Linked DNA regions of Homo sapiens: region 1 is linked to region 2. Evidence: promoter capture Hi-C in 16 types of primary human blood cells and fetal thymus (Javierre and others, 2016). All regions are on one chromosome and are shown on one strand. The core of a region is centred on a gene start or on the middle of the fragment in contact, and the rest is flanking DNA. Distances in the headings are between cores, read along the strand shown. Region 1 holds the start of UBE2V2 (ubiquitin conjugating enzyme E2 V2). Region 2 holds the start of THAP1 (THAP domain containing 1).

The links. The method cuts DNA at HindIII sites, captures the fragments that hold promoters and counts their contacts. A CHiCAGO score of 5 or more calls a contact.
Region 1: a contact is called between the fragment with the promoter of UBE2V2 here and the fragment with the promoter of THAP1 in region 2, in 4 of 17 cell types (fetal thymus, total CD4 T cells, total CD8 T cells and 1 more). The highest score is 28.6, in fetal thymus.

Annotation. Positions count from the first base shown.
Region 1 is chr8:48,006,934-48,013,714 of GRCh38, reverse strand. UBE2V2 (ubiquitin conjugating enzyme E2 V2) reads right to left here and starts at 5,284. Exons shown (of 4, transcript NM_003350.3): 1 at 5,245-5,284. The coding sequence starts at 5,260. RefSeq lists silencers at 4,889-5,088, 5,319-5,578. The HindIII fragment of the contact is 2,629 bases long and covers 4,507-6,781 here.
Region 2 is chr8:42,841,460-42,848,125 of GRCh38, reverse strand. THAP1 (THAP domain containing 1) reads left to right here and starts at 4,801. Exons shown (of 3, transcript NM_018105.3): 1 at 4,801-5,102. The coding sequence starts at 5,032. It overlaps LOC124901940 (a long non-coding RNA gene), which reads right to left and starts at 5,192. Exons shown (of 2, transcript XR_007060901.1): 1 at 4,743-5,192; 2 at 2,714-4,359. RefSeq lists enhancers at 4,723-5,082, 4,418-5,208 and a silencer at 5,113-5,202. The HindIII fragment of the contact is 1,565 bases long and covers 4,042-5,606 here.

The DNA.
Region 1 (6,781 bases), core at 4,035-6,534, 5.2 Mb before region 2:
AGTTTCTCATAACTCAAAGACATTTTCCAGGCATCTACAGTCAGAGACTAGAGCTTCACTGTACCATTAATATTACCTAAGTGATAAATGTAAAACGTTTCATGTGGGCCGGGCGCGGTGGCTCACGCCTGTAATCCCAGCACTTTGGGAGGCCGAGGCGGATGGATCACGAGGTCAGGAGATCGAGACCATCCCGGCTAACACGGTGAAACCCCACTTCTACTAAAAATACAAAAAAAATTAACCGGGCATGGTGGCAGGCGCCTATAGTCCCAGCTACTTCGGAGGCTGAGGCCACAGAATGGCATGAACCCAGGAGGCAGTGCTTGCAGTGAGCCAAGATCACGCCACTGCACTCCAGCCTGGGCCACAGAGCGAGACTTCATCTCAAAAAAAAAAAAAAAGTTTCACGTTACAATGTAATGTGGTATCCTGGATGAAGTCCTAGGACAGCAAAAGTACATTAAAGAAAAACTAAGGAAATCTGAACTTTAGTTAATAATAAATGTGTCAATATTGGTTCCTTAATTGTGACAAGTGTACCATACCAATATAAGAAATTAACAGCGAAGCCAGATGCAGTGGCTCACACCAGTGATCCCAGCACTTTGGGAGGCCAAGGCGGGCGGATCATGAGGCCAGGAGTTTGAAACCAGCCTGGCCAACATGGTGAAACCCTGTCTCTACTAAAAATACAAAAAATTATCCGGGTGTGACAGCACACACCTGTAATCCCAGCTACTCGGGAGGCTGAGGCAGGAGAATCACTTGAACCCAGGAGGCAGAGGTTGCAGTGAGCCCAGATCACGCCACTGCTCTCTAGCCTGGGCGACAGAGCAAGACTCCATCCCGAAAGAAAAAAAAAGGAAATTGACAGGGAAAACTGAATGTGAGGTGCATGGAAACTTTCTGTACTATCTTCACAACTTTTCTGTAAAACTAAAACTATTGTATTTTTTTAAAACTATTGCACACGCTTTTTTTCTTTTTTTTTCTGAGATGGAGTCTCACTCTTCTTACCCAGGCTGGAATGCAATGGCGTGCTCTCGGCTCACCACAACCTCTGCCTCCCGGGTTCAAGAGATTCTCCTGCCTCAGCCTTCCGAGTAGCTGGAATTACAGGCATGTGCCACCACGCCCGGATAATTTTGTATTTTTAGTAGAGACATGGTTTCTCCATGTTGGTCCAGCTGGTCTCAACCTCCCGACCTCAGGTAATCCGCCCACCTCGGCCTCCCAAAGTGCTGGGATTACAGGTGTGAGCCACCCCACCCGGCCTGCACATACTTTTCTATCTAAACTAATTGTTATTATTAATGCTGGAATCTAATAAAATTTTGAATCATGAGTACTAAACAGTATCAAATTTCTATTCCCGAGAGTAGCTTCTTAACCTCTGTCCTGTGAAATACTCTTGAATTGCATGGGTAACTCTGTCTCTTGGAAAAGGAGAACCTAGCTGGTGAGGGCTACGTTCCCCTTTCATCCATAAGAAGGATCTAAGAGTCTGAAACAAGGATTGTGCTAAGAAGGGAAGTGTGAAAGGGAGTAATTAAGATTCATGTTCTGAGAAATATTCCAAATTCAGAGTTCTTCATAATGGAGAGCGCATCAGACTAAGGGTAAAAGACCTGGATTCTAGTCTTGCCTGTACTAGTAACCACCTATGTATAGCCTTTTACTTGTTTGAGCCTCAGTTTTCTCATCTGCAAAATAAGAAGACCAGATGGGATGGCCAAAAATGTTTCTGCTTAGAAGTCTCCGTCTGGCCAGGCACAGTGGCTCAAACCTGTAATCCTAACCTCAGGCCAGGGCAGGAGGGTCACTTGAGTCCAGGAGTTCAGACTACACTGGATAACATACGGAGACCCTGTCTCTACAAATAATTTAAAAATTAGCCAGGTGTGGCAATGCGTGCCTGTGTTCGCAGCTACTCGGGAGGCTGAGGTAGGAGGATCACCTGACCCCAGCAGGTCGAGGCTGCAGTGAGCCATGATCGCATGCCACTGCATTCCAACCTGGGCAACACAGCAAGACTCCGTCTCAAAAAGTCTCAGTCTAATTAAAAGTTTTTTCCTTCCAAAATTCTCTTCCAGTAGAAGGAAGGGTTAAAGGGGCTAAGGTATATGATGCACACTGAACTAAAGATCAAAACATATTTGTCAGGGTTTTTCTTTTTGGCCTCTTAAACAACTGTTATCGAGATACTTTGGCTTAAATAAAAAACACGTGTATTAGACCAAGCTCAGTGGTTTATGCCTGTAATCCCAGAACTTTGGGAGGCCGGAGCAGATGGATTACCTGAGGTTAGCAGTTTGAGACCAGCCTGGCCAACATGGTGAAACCCCATCTCTACTAGAAAAAATATATATACAATAAATTAGCTGGGCGTGGTGGTGCATGCCTGTAAACCCAGCTACTCAGAATGCTGAGGCAGGAGAATTGCTTAAACCCAGGAGGAAGAGGCTGCAGTCAGCCGAGATCGCACCATTGCACTCCAGCCTGAGCAACAAGGCGAGACTCCGTTTCAAACAAACACGTGCATTACATCGATGTAGCTCATCTAATTTTAAATTTTAAGCTGTATCATGCTGCTTTCACAAATACACAGGTACTATTTACTTCCCATGTTACCAAAAAGCAAACAAAAGTATAGCTAATAGTAAAATTAAAACTAATTAATAGGCTGGGCACTGTGGCTCACACCTGTAATCCCAGCACTTTGGGAGGCCAAGGTGGGCGGATTGCCTGGGGTCAGGAGTTTGAGACCAGTCTGGACAACATGATGAAAACCTGTCCCTACTAAAAAAAAAAAAAAAAATACAAAAAAAATATATATATACAAAAAAATTTGCTGGGCGTGGTGGCATGCACCTGTAATCCCAGCTACTCAAGAGGCTGAGGCAGAGGAATTGCTTGAACCAGGGAGGTGGAAGTTGCAGTGAGCCGAGATCATGCCCTTGCACTCCAGCCTGGGCAAAGAAGCGAGAGACTCAGTCTCAAAAAAAAAAAAAAACAAACAAACCCAGGCGCAGTGGCTCACACCTGTAATCCCAGCAATTTGGGAGGCCGGATCACGAGGTCAAGAGATCAAGACCATCCTGGCCAATATGGTGAAACCCCGTCTCTACTAAATATACAAAAAATTAGCTGGGCATGGTGGCACGCGCCTGTTGTCCCAGCTACTCAGGAGACTGAGGCAGGAGAATCGCTTGAGCCCGGGAGGCGGAGGTTGCAGTGAGCCGAGATCGCGCCACTGCACTCCAGCCTGGGTGACAGAGCAAGACTGCGTCTCAAAAAAAAAAAAAAAAAAAACTAGTAGATGGGAACGGTGGCTCACCCCTGTAATCCAGCACTTTGGGAGGCTGAGGCGGGTGGATCACCTGAGGTGAGGAGGGTGCAGTGAGCCAAGATCATGCCACTGCACTCCAGCCTGGGCAATGCAGCGAGACTCCATCTCAAAAAAAAAAAAAAAATACAGACTCCCTATGTACAATATGCTAATAATTTATCAGTAATCTTTATAATTTATATTCAACTTCCAAAACAACTAAAAGTGATTAACAAAAAGTATTTGCCATTAATATCATCTAACCTTTGGTCTTTTCAAAATATTAACATACACTCATGTATAGTGTTATGAAAAAATTGTGTTTAATAATGCAACCCACAAAAGGAAAATGAAAAGTATTAAATTAAAATGCATTATTTTATTACTAAATTTTCAAAAATCTATAAGAGGTCCTAAGCACAACTGTTATAAAGATATGGCCCCGTTAACGAGCACAGATTAGATTTCAGCAAGCACAGTAAAGTCATAACACTAAAATTCCACTTTTAAAACAATCCTTGCCTTACTAGCTAGCTGACCCAAGTATGTATACTACCCCAACACTAGAACTGCTAAAGATCTTAAAACCTATGACACCTATATGTAATAAAGATGTAAAAGACACCACTTAATTAAAATGTATGCAGAATGTATCCTGAGGTATTACTCTAAAGCAACAATTACAACATATATTCAAAGCCTTCCATTTCAGTACATATAGATTTGAAAATTCATTTTATTATGCAATGATGGCATAAACTATTAAATCACACTGCTCTATACTCTTGTTTCAACGAAGACTAGGAAAAGGCAGATCAGGCCGAGCGCGGTGGCTCACACCTGTAATTCCAGCACTCTGGGAGGCCGAAGTGGGCGGATCACCTGAGGTCAGGAGTTCGAGACCAGTCTGGCCAACATGACAAAACCCCGTCTCTACTAAAAATACAAAAATTAGCCGGGCCTGGTGGCACGCGCCTGTAATCCCAGCTACTTGGGAGGCTGAGGCAGGAGAATCACTTGAACCTGGGAGGTGGAGGTTGCAGTGAGCCGAGATCACACCACTGCATTCCAACTGGGCAACAGGGTGAGCCTCTGACTCAAAAAAAAAAAAAAAAAGAAAAGAAAAGAAAAAGGCAGATCACACGGGTTAACATTTTTAAATGTAAACTAAAGCTTAACGTTTTTAACATTTCTGAAATGGTCTAATGTCTAAAACCTCAACGTTAATACTTGTGTGCTCACAGGAAACCAAACATTGTATTCAGTAGGAAAGAGGAGTTGAACAGCTTATCTAAGAAACCACTTGTTCTTCAATTAGCTTTCATCTTGCTCTGGTCTTTTATTTTGTTTGCACTGCAGTTTTCCTCATAAATAATAAAAAGATCACACGTATTCAGTCAGGTAAGAAAGATCCTCTCGCTCTTATTTTAAGGAGCAATCGTCCTCTACTCCCCAACCCATGTCAAGGAGAGTCCAAAGGAATGGGACCCCTACTCTGATCCAGGACACCTCTTGGCCTGACCCATCTTCGGTGCCGGTTGGCCTGACCCATCTTCGGTGCCGGAGGTTGACACCCGCCCACCTTGGGCCTCCTCGCCTCCCTCCCGTAGAGCCTTCAGCCTACAACTCGGACCCGCGCCCGCCGGAACCTACGGGGGCGCCCGCGCGGGAGCCACCCCGCCCCCAGCCCGCCGGCGCGCGGCCGACGCGCGAGCACGACCCGCCAACCCGACGGCCGCCGGGGCCTCGGCGCCGGTCCCACCCGGTCCCAGGCTACGCTCTGCGGAGAGCGCGGCATTCGAGACAGCGCACTCGGGCTTCTCCCGCACGGTCAGCGCTCGGGCGCCAGCAGCAGACGGAGGGGCAGAGCCGGGTCGGAGCGGAAAATCACGCAGCCCGGCCCGGGAACCGACCTGTGGAGACCGCCATCTTCTCCTGCAGCCCGACGCAGCCGCCCGCACGCACGCACGAACCGTCGCGCGTCACTTCCGGGAGCGCGCCGCCCTGCACGCGTCACAGCGGACTCCGCCCCCGGCGGGCGCGGGGCGACCCGAGGGACAGCGCGCACGTGGGCCGAGGGGTCGCGGGGCCTCGCTGCTGTTTCCGCAATTCCCTTGTGAATCCCGCTCTCAAAATGAAACGCTAAAGAATAAGTTCATGAGGGCCGGGCGCGGTGGCTCACGTCTGTAATCCCAGCACTTTGGGAGGCCGAGGCGATCGGATCACCCGAGGTCAGGAGTTCGAAACCAGCCTGGCCAACATGGCGAAACCCCGTCTCTACTAAAAATACAAAAATTAGCCGGACGTGGTGGCGCGCGCCTGTAATCCCAGCTATTTGGGAGGCTGAGGCACGAGAATCGTTTGAACCGGGGAGGCGGAGGGGCAATGAGCCGCGATTGCGCCACTGCACTCCAGCCTGGACAACAGAGCGAGACTCCGCCTCAAAAAAATAAATAAAAATAAGTGGGCATTGACAGATTTGCGTTGATAAACGATTCAAAAGAGTTGGACAATAAATTTGAACAGCTAGGGATGCTGAGGTGGGAGGGTCACGTGAGCCCAAGAGGTGAGGCTGCAGTGAGCAGAAATCGCTGCACTCCAGCCTGGGCAACAGAGGGAGACTCCATTTCAAAAAAAAAAAAGAAAGAAAGAAAAAGGAAAGTAATACAGGCTGGGCGCCGAAGCTCACTTCTGTAATCCTAACACTTTGGGAGGCTGAGGCAGGAGGATGGCTTGAACCCAAGACTTTGAGACCAGCTTGGACAACATAGTGATACCTAGTCTCTACATAAAACTGAAAAAAAAAAAAAAAAAAGATTTTTCACATCCCTTGTAGGTTGTATTCCTAGGTATTTTTATTCTCTTTGTAGCAATTGTGAATGGGAGTTCACTCATGATTTGGCTCTCTGTTTGTCTGTTATTAGTGTATAGGAATGCTTGTGATTTTTGCACATTGATTTTGTATCCTGAGACTTTGCTGAAGTTGCTTGTCAGCTTAAGAAGATTTGGGGCTGAGACTATGGGGTTTTCTAAATATACAATCATGTCATCTGCAAACAGAGACAATTTGACTTCCTCTTTTCCTAATTGAATACCCTTTATTTCTTTCTCTTGCCTGATTGCCCTGGCCAGAACTTCCAATACTATGTTGAATAGGAGTGGTGAGAGAGGGCATCTTTGTCTTGTGCCGGCTTTCAAAGGGAATGCTTTTGGCCGGGCATGGATCCCAGCACTTTGGGAGGCGGAGGCGGGCGGATCACGAGGTCAGAAGATCAAGACCATCTTGGCTAACACAGTGAAACCCTGTCTCTACTAAAAAAAAAAAAATACAAAAAATTAGCCAGGCATGGTGGCAGGCCCCTGTAGTCCCAGCTACTCGGGAGGCTGAGGCAGGAGAATGGCGTGAACCCGGGAGTTGGAGCTTGCAGTGAACCGAGATGGCGACACTGC
Region 2 (6,666 bases), core at 3,552-6,051:
TTAATGAAGGTGGCTACACTAACAGCAGATTTTCAATGTAGATAGAATGGCTTCTATTGGAAGAAGATGCCATCTAGGACTTTTAGTAGCCAGGAAGGAGAATTCAGTGCTTGGCTTCAAAGTGTCACAGGACTGGCTGACTCCCTTGTTAGGGGCTGATGCAACTGATGACTTTAAGTTGAAGCCAATGCTCACTTACCATTTCAAAAATCCTATTGGTCTTAAGAACAATGGTAAATCTACTCTGCCTGTGCTCAATAAATGGAATAATAAAGCCTGGATGACAGCACATCTGTTTACAGCATGGTTCACTTAATATTTTAAGTCCATTGTTACACCTACTGCTCAGAAAAAAAAATTCCTTTCAAAATAATACTGCTCATTGACAATGCACCTGGTCACCCAAGAGCTCTAATGGAGATGTACAAGGAGATGAATGTTGTTTTCATGCCTGTAACACAACATCCATTCTGCAGCCCCATAAATCAAGGAGTATTTTGACTTCCAAGTTTTATTACCTATGAAATAAATTTTGTAAGCCTATAGCTGCCATAGATAGTGACTCCTCTGATGGATCTGGGCAAAGTCAGTAGAAAACCTTCTGGAAAGGATTCATCATTCTAGATGCCCTGAAGAACATCAATAATTCATGGGAGGAAAAATATCAACATTAACAGGAGTTTGGCAGAAATTGACTCCAGCCCTCATGAATGGCTTTGAGTTGTTCAAGACTTTGGTGGAAGAAGTCACTGCAAGTGTGATAGAAACAACAAGAGAACTAGAATTAAAAGTGGATCCTGAAGATGTGACTGAGTTGCTGCAATTTCATGATAAAACTTGAACAGATGAGGAGTTGCTTCTTATAGATGAGCAAATAAAGTAGTTTATGAAGATGGAATCTACTTCTGGCAAAGATGCTGTGAACATTGTTGAAATGACAACAACGGATTTAGAATATTTTGAATATTAAATAAACCTAGTTGATAAAGCAGTGGCAGGGTTTGAGAGGATTAACTCCAATTCTTAAAGAAGTTCTACTGTGACCAAAATGCTATTAAACAGCATTACTTGCTACAGAGAAATATTTAATGAAAGGAAGAGTCAATCGATGCAGCAAACTTCATTGTTGTCTCATTTTAAGAACTTGCCACAGCCACCTCAACCTTCAGCAACCATGATCAGTCAGCAGCCATCAACATCAAGGCAAGACTCTCCATCAACAAAAAGATCACCATTTGCTGAAGGCTCAGGTGATCATTAGCTTTTTTTTTTAGCAATACATATCTGTGTGTGTATGTGTATGTGTATAAAATTTAGAGATGGGATCTCACTGTCATGATCATAGCTCACACTCCAGCAGCCTCAGACTCCTGGACTCAAGGGATCCTCCTTGCCTCAGCCTCCCAAGTAGCTGGAACTACAGGCATGCACCACCATACCTGACCAATTAAAAACAACTTTTTAGAAACAGGGTCTCACTCTGCTGTCCAGGCTGCCTTGAGTCCCTGCCTCAGCCTCCTGAGCCCTGACACCCAGCTCATGGTAACTGTTGGTTTGCTTGTTTGAGACAGGGTCTCATTCTGTTTGCTCAGGCTGGAGTACAAAGGCATGACCACAGCTCACTGCAGCCTCAACCTTCTGGGTTCAAGGAATCCTCTCAACTCAGCCTCCCAAGTATCTGGGACTACAGGTGTGTGCCAACATGCCTGGCTAATTTTTGTATTTTTTTTGTAGAGACAGGGTCTCACTATGTTGCCCAGGCTGGCCTTGAACACCTGGGCTCATGTGATCCACCCGCCTCAGCCTCCCAAAGTGCTGGGATTACAGGCGTGAGCCACTGCACCAGGCCATTAAGCCACATCTTAAGGGTGGACAGGTCAGGGATGGGCATTTCAAGCCAAGGAAAACAGCCTATTTAAAGAAACCACAAAAGAGCCTACCCTCTAAGACATAAAGCCGGAACAAAGGTAAAGACAAGTGGAGGGAGATGATGGTGGAAGAGTAGAAGTACTTGGTCTTAAAGAGCTTTATAATTCACCATAAGAAGTTTGGATTTTATTCAGTACAGCAGGTAGCCTTGGAAGGATATGAGCAAGGGCGTGGCAGGCATGCACCACCCTTCTATAGAAGATAGAATGGAGAGAGGTAAAACTGGAGACTAGGATAGTTAAGGGGTTGCTGCAAGGTTAAGACCATGAGAGCTTGGTCAAGAACAGTGAGGAGGCCAGGTGCCGTGGCTCACGCCTGTAGTCCCAGGACTTTGGGAGGCCCTGGCTGACAGATAGCTTAAACCCAGGAGTTTGAGACCAGCCTGGGCAACACAGTGAGACCTCATCTCTGTTAAATATAATAATAAAAATAATTAAAGAACAGTGAGGGTTGGGCGCAGTGGCTCACGCCTGTAATCCCAACACTTTGGGAGGCCGAGGCAGGCGTATCACCTGAGGTCAGGAGTTCGAGTCCAGCCTGGCCAACATGGTGAAACCCCATCTCTACAAAAATACAAAAATTAGCCAGGCATGGTGGCGGGTGCCTGTAATCCCAGCTACTTAGGAGGCTGAGGCGGGATAATCGCTTGAACCCAGGAGGCGGAGGTTGCAGTGAACTGAGATTGTGCCACTGCACTCCAGACTGAGCGACAGAGTGAGACTCCCTCTCAAAAAAAAAAACAAAAAAAAAAACAACAACAACAGTGAGGAGACATGAAGAGGGATGGATTTAAGGGGCATTTATTTATTTAGTCTACAAAATTAACCTGGTCATCAACGGGTTTTATGGGTGACAAAAAAAATCCAAGATGACTCCAAGGTTTCTGGTTTAGACAACTGTTGAACAGATAATTCACAGATGATAATTCACAGATGATAATCCCAAAGGCAGAACGGATATACAAAGGAAATAAAAGATGAGAGAATTATGGTATTTGGTTCAGTTTAAGGAGCAGGGTGTTTAGGAGTTAGAGGAGGGCAGAAGATGGAACCCTGGGGAAACAGCAACATTTAAAAGGGCAGGAAAGGTAGAGAATAAGGGCCAAGGGATTACTCAACAGTCCGCTCTCCAGGTCTGCCTGGCTCAGATCTATATAAAGAAAAGGAGCAGGGAATGAAGTAAAACTGTTACAGGAAAGGGGTCCCAATCCAGACCCCAAGACAGGGTTCTTGGATCTCACGCAAGACAGAATTCAGGGCAAGTCCACAGTACAAAGCAAAAGCAAGTTTATTAAGAACGTAAAGTGGTGAAAGTACAGCTACTCCACAGACAGAGTAGGGCATTCCCGAAAGTAAGAGGAGGAACGCGTCCACCCTAAGTACAACACTTAGTTTATATATAGGATAAAAAAAGATCATGGGGAGATGTGCTTTGCTACAAGGGTTTGTGATAAAGGATTAATTACTATATTATGTAAGAATCGATATTATCTTTATTTATGAGACAGAGTCTTACTCTGTCGCCCAGGCTGGAGTGCAGTGGTGCAAGCACGGCTCACTGCAACCCCCGCCTCCCGGATTCAAGCGATTATCCTGCCTCAGCCTCCAGAGTAGCTGAAATTCGAGGGCATGTGCCACCACACCCGGTTAATTTTTGTATTTTTAGTAGAGACGTTTTCACCATGTTGACCAGGCTAGTCTTGAACTCCTGACCTCAAGTGATCCGCCCGCCTCGGCCTTCCAAAGTGCTGGGATTACAGGCGTGAGGCACTGTGCCCAGCCCAATATTATTATCTTTAAAGCAAAATTAGGAATGCTTCTGTTCTCAAAATATCGGGATATCTGGACACTTGGTAGTCTGGGTCTGTGTAGTAAACATTATCAATCTGTTGCCTTAATGGTATACACATCTAGAGGCTAGGAATACCTAACTTCCCGGGAATGCAGCCCAGCAAGTCCCAGCCTCATTTTCCTAGCCCTCACTCAACACAGAGTCGCTCTAGTTCGAACCCCTCTAACATATTCTCTCTCAGGTGTGAAAATTGCTGCAGCAGTTCGCTATTTGCAACACAGCACATGGAAATCACAGCAATGGAGAGCCTTCAGAAAAGCTTCTGGGGAGGGACAGCCTGGTGGCTCAACTCCTGTAATCCCAACCCATGGGGAGGTCGAGATGGGAGGATCCCTTGAGCTCGAGTTCCAGACTGACCTGGGCAACGTGGGGAGACAACGCCTCTATTTATTTAAAAAATTACATATATATATATATATATACATACACACACACATATATACATACACACATATATACATACATATACATACATATATATAAAACGCTTCTGCGTTGGCAATTGAGATGATTTGGCGAGTGTGTCTTTTTTCATTGCTAAAAATCTGTCACGTTGGCTCTCACAGAAACTTGTGATACCTGAAGACACAGGTAATGGGATAAAGATTAGCACTCTGGGAAAAGGTTCCACAATTTTATTAATCATACACCATCTGTGTCCGCCCTTTTAAAGAAATGGGCGCAATCAGCCAACGACCTCGGCTTTACACCTGTTCTCCAAGAGGCCCTAGTTGTTCCCTACTGTAAGCTGCCCCAGAAAAGGTCCGCATCAATTAACCCACGGGAACAGCCCGGGGCTGGAGGATGCCCCAGGAATCCGGCCTCCCGCCGCGCCTCCTCCCCCCACAAGCAGTTCCTTCCTGCCTGCCGGAAGCTCAGGGCTCCGCCCACTTCGGCAACTCTGAAGCCACCGCCGGAAACACCTGGCCTCAGCCAATAGTTAGCTTCCCAGGAAACGTTACCTCTGACCTCGGGGCTAATCAGAGACAGTGGGACGCACCCCTCGCGAGAGGTGAGGTTGAAGCTGCCTCCGCCATCTTGGAGATGGGAGACGGGCGATGGCTGTGGTCCTTCTGCTAATGCAAACAACAAAACGGGCACACTAGTCACCCCCGAGGGAGGCCACCATCACTGTAACTGTTGGCCAAAGCTACAAAAGAAGCGAGGGAATCCAACCGAGCGCAGCGACACTGAGAACAGCTTCCCCTGCCTTCTGCGGCGGCAGAAGTGAAGTGCCTGAGGACCGGAAGGATGGTGCAGTCCTGCTCCGCCTACGGCTGCAAGAACCGCTACGACAAGGACAAGCCCGTTTCTTTCCACAAGTGAGGACCCTGCGCGCCTCGCGGGGCCGGTCTCAGCCGGGGTGGGGGCGCGCGGCCGGCGGGGCCGGGGGCGGAGCCAGGCGCGTGTCCGCGCGAGGGGCGGGTGGGGTCTGGGGCCGGCCGTGTCGGGCGTTTCCCACCGCGTCCCGCTGGGAACCGCCGCCCGATCGCGCGTTCTCGGCGCGCGTCGCCGCGGCAGCCGTTTCTCGCGCTCCTGGAACAGGCCCTGGTTGCAGGCTTCGCTCACGGCCTGGGTTGACGCGTTCGGAGCCCACGGGCGATGCCTAGGGTGGCGCGGGTTTTGCCACCACCAGGGTCACAGAGCAGCCAGGTGTTTTAATATGGTCTTAGGGGTAAATTTAAAATAGAAACAAAGGCCTTTAAACGAAGAAATCACTACTTTTCGCCCTTGCCGTGGATGGGAGGCCAGCATCGTAGCAATTAAGGGTTTTTTGGCTGGGAAATCAGGGAGAATTTTTGCCCCCAATCTCTAGGAACTAAGCTTTAAGGACCCTGTATTTTGGAGAAAGCTTCAGGTACTGCCGAGATAAATCGTTATCTTTTCAGCACACAATAATGATAATATGGACAGTTACAACATGGATCATAATAAAATGACTCACACGGATCTTTATTTATTATGGCATTACCTGTGCATAGAGAAAGCTCTTTCGAAAGAAACTGCCCCACAGCTTTCAGAGCTGTCTTATCCAGTAGGTAGCACAGTTAAGTGATAGGATCAAAAATATTCTCTTGAAAATAGGAAAAAAGTGCAGAGTTGTAATTACTTATGATAAACGCTTGTAAAATGTGACATAACATTTTCATTCAGCTGAATTTGTTTACAAATTTTAATTACATTTATGTTAAGTTTTCTTTGCAAGAATTCCTGACAGCTATACGCAGATGATAGGTAAGAAATCAGATCCAGGGGTAAACTATACAGATTAGCCATAGGTAATTAGCTAATTATCTTTTATAATTAGGTAAATAATTACAAAAGCAAAATGTTAAATATCTTTTCAGTTAATTTATTTTTTTGCTGTGGGGCCATCTGTGTTTACTAGGGGAGTGTCCATGCATTTTTTAAATATGTTTGATATCATGTGAGATGGACCCTATAGAAATAAGAGTGTGTAGAACATAGAGAGGTCTCCAGAGTAATAATGTTACCCCTTGGAGAAGGGGATAGAACACTTAGAGGATTCAGTTCAGGATATCCTAATATTATCTCTTGATTTAATTGGAATTTCTGTAAACATGTTCTTTCTAAATGTAGGGAAAGGTCAGGTGATGGTAACAGGATTACATGCCCAGCTCCCCACCCACATTTCTGATGGCTTGGCAGAAGGAATCTAAAATTATGGAAAATGTTTCATTGGCACTGGAAACTAGTTTAAAGAGGGTATTCACACGTCGGAAATAACTGTTTTTGTCGAGGCACGATGGCTCATGCCTGTAATTCCCAGCACTTGGGGAGGCCAAGGTGGGCGGATCACCTGACGTCAGGAGTTCGAGACCAGCCTGGCCAACATGGCAAAATCCCGTCTCTACTAAAAATACA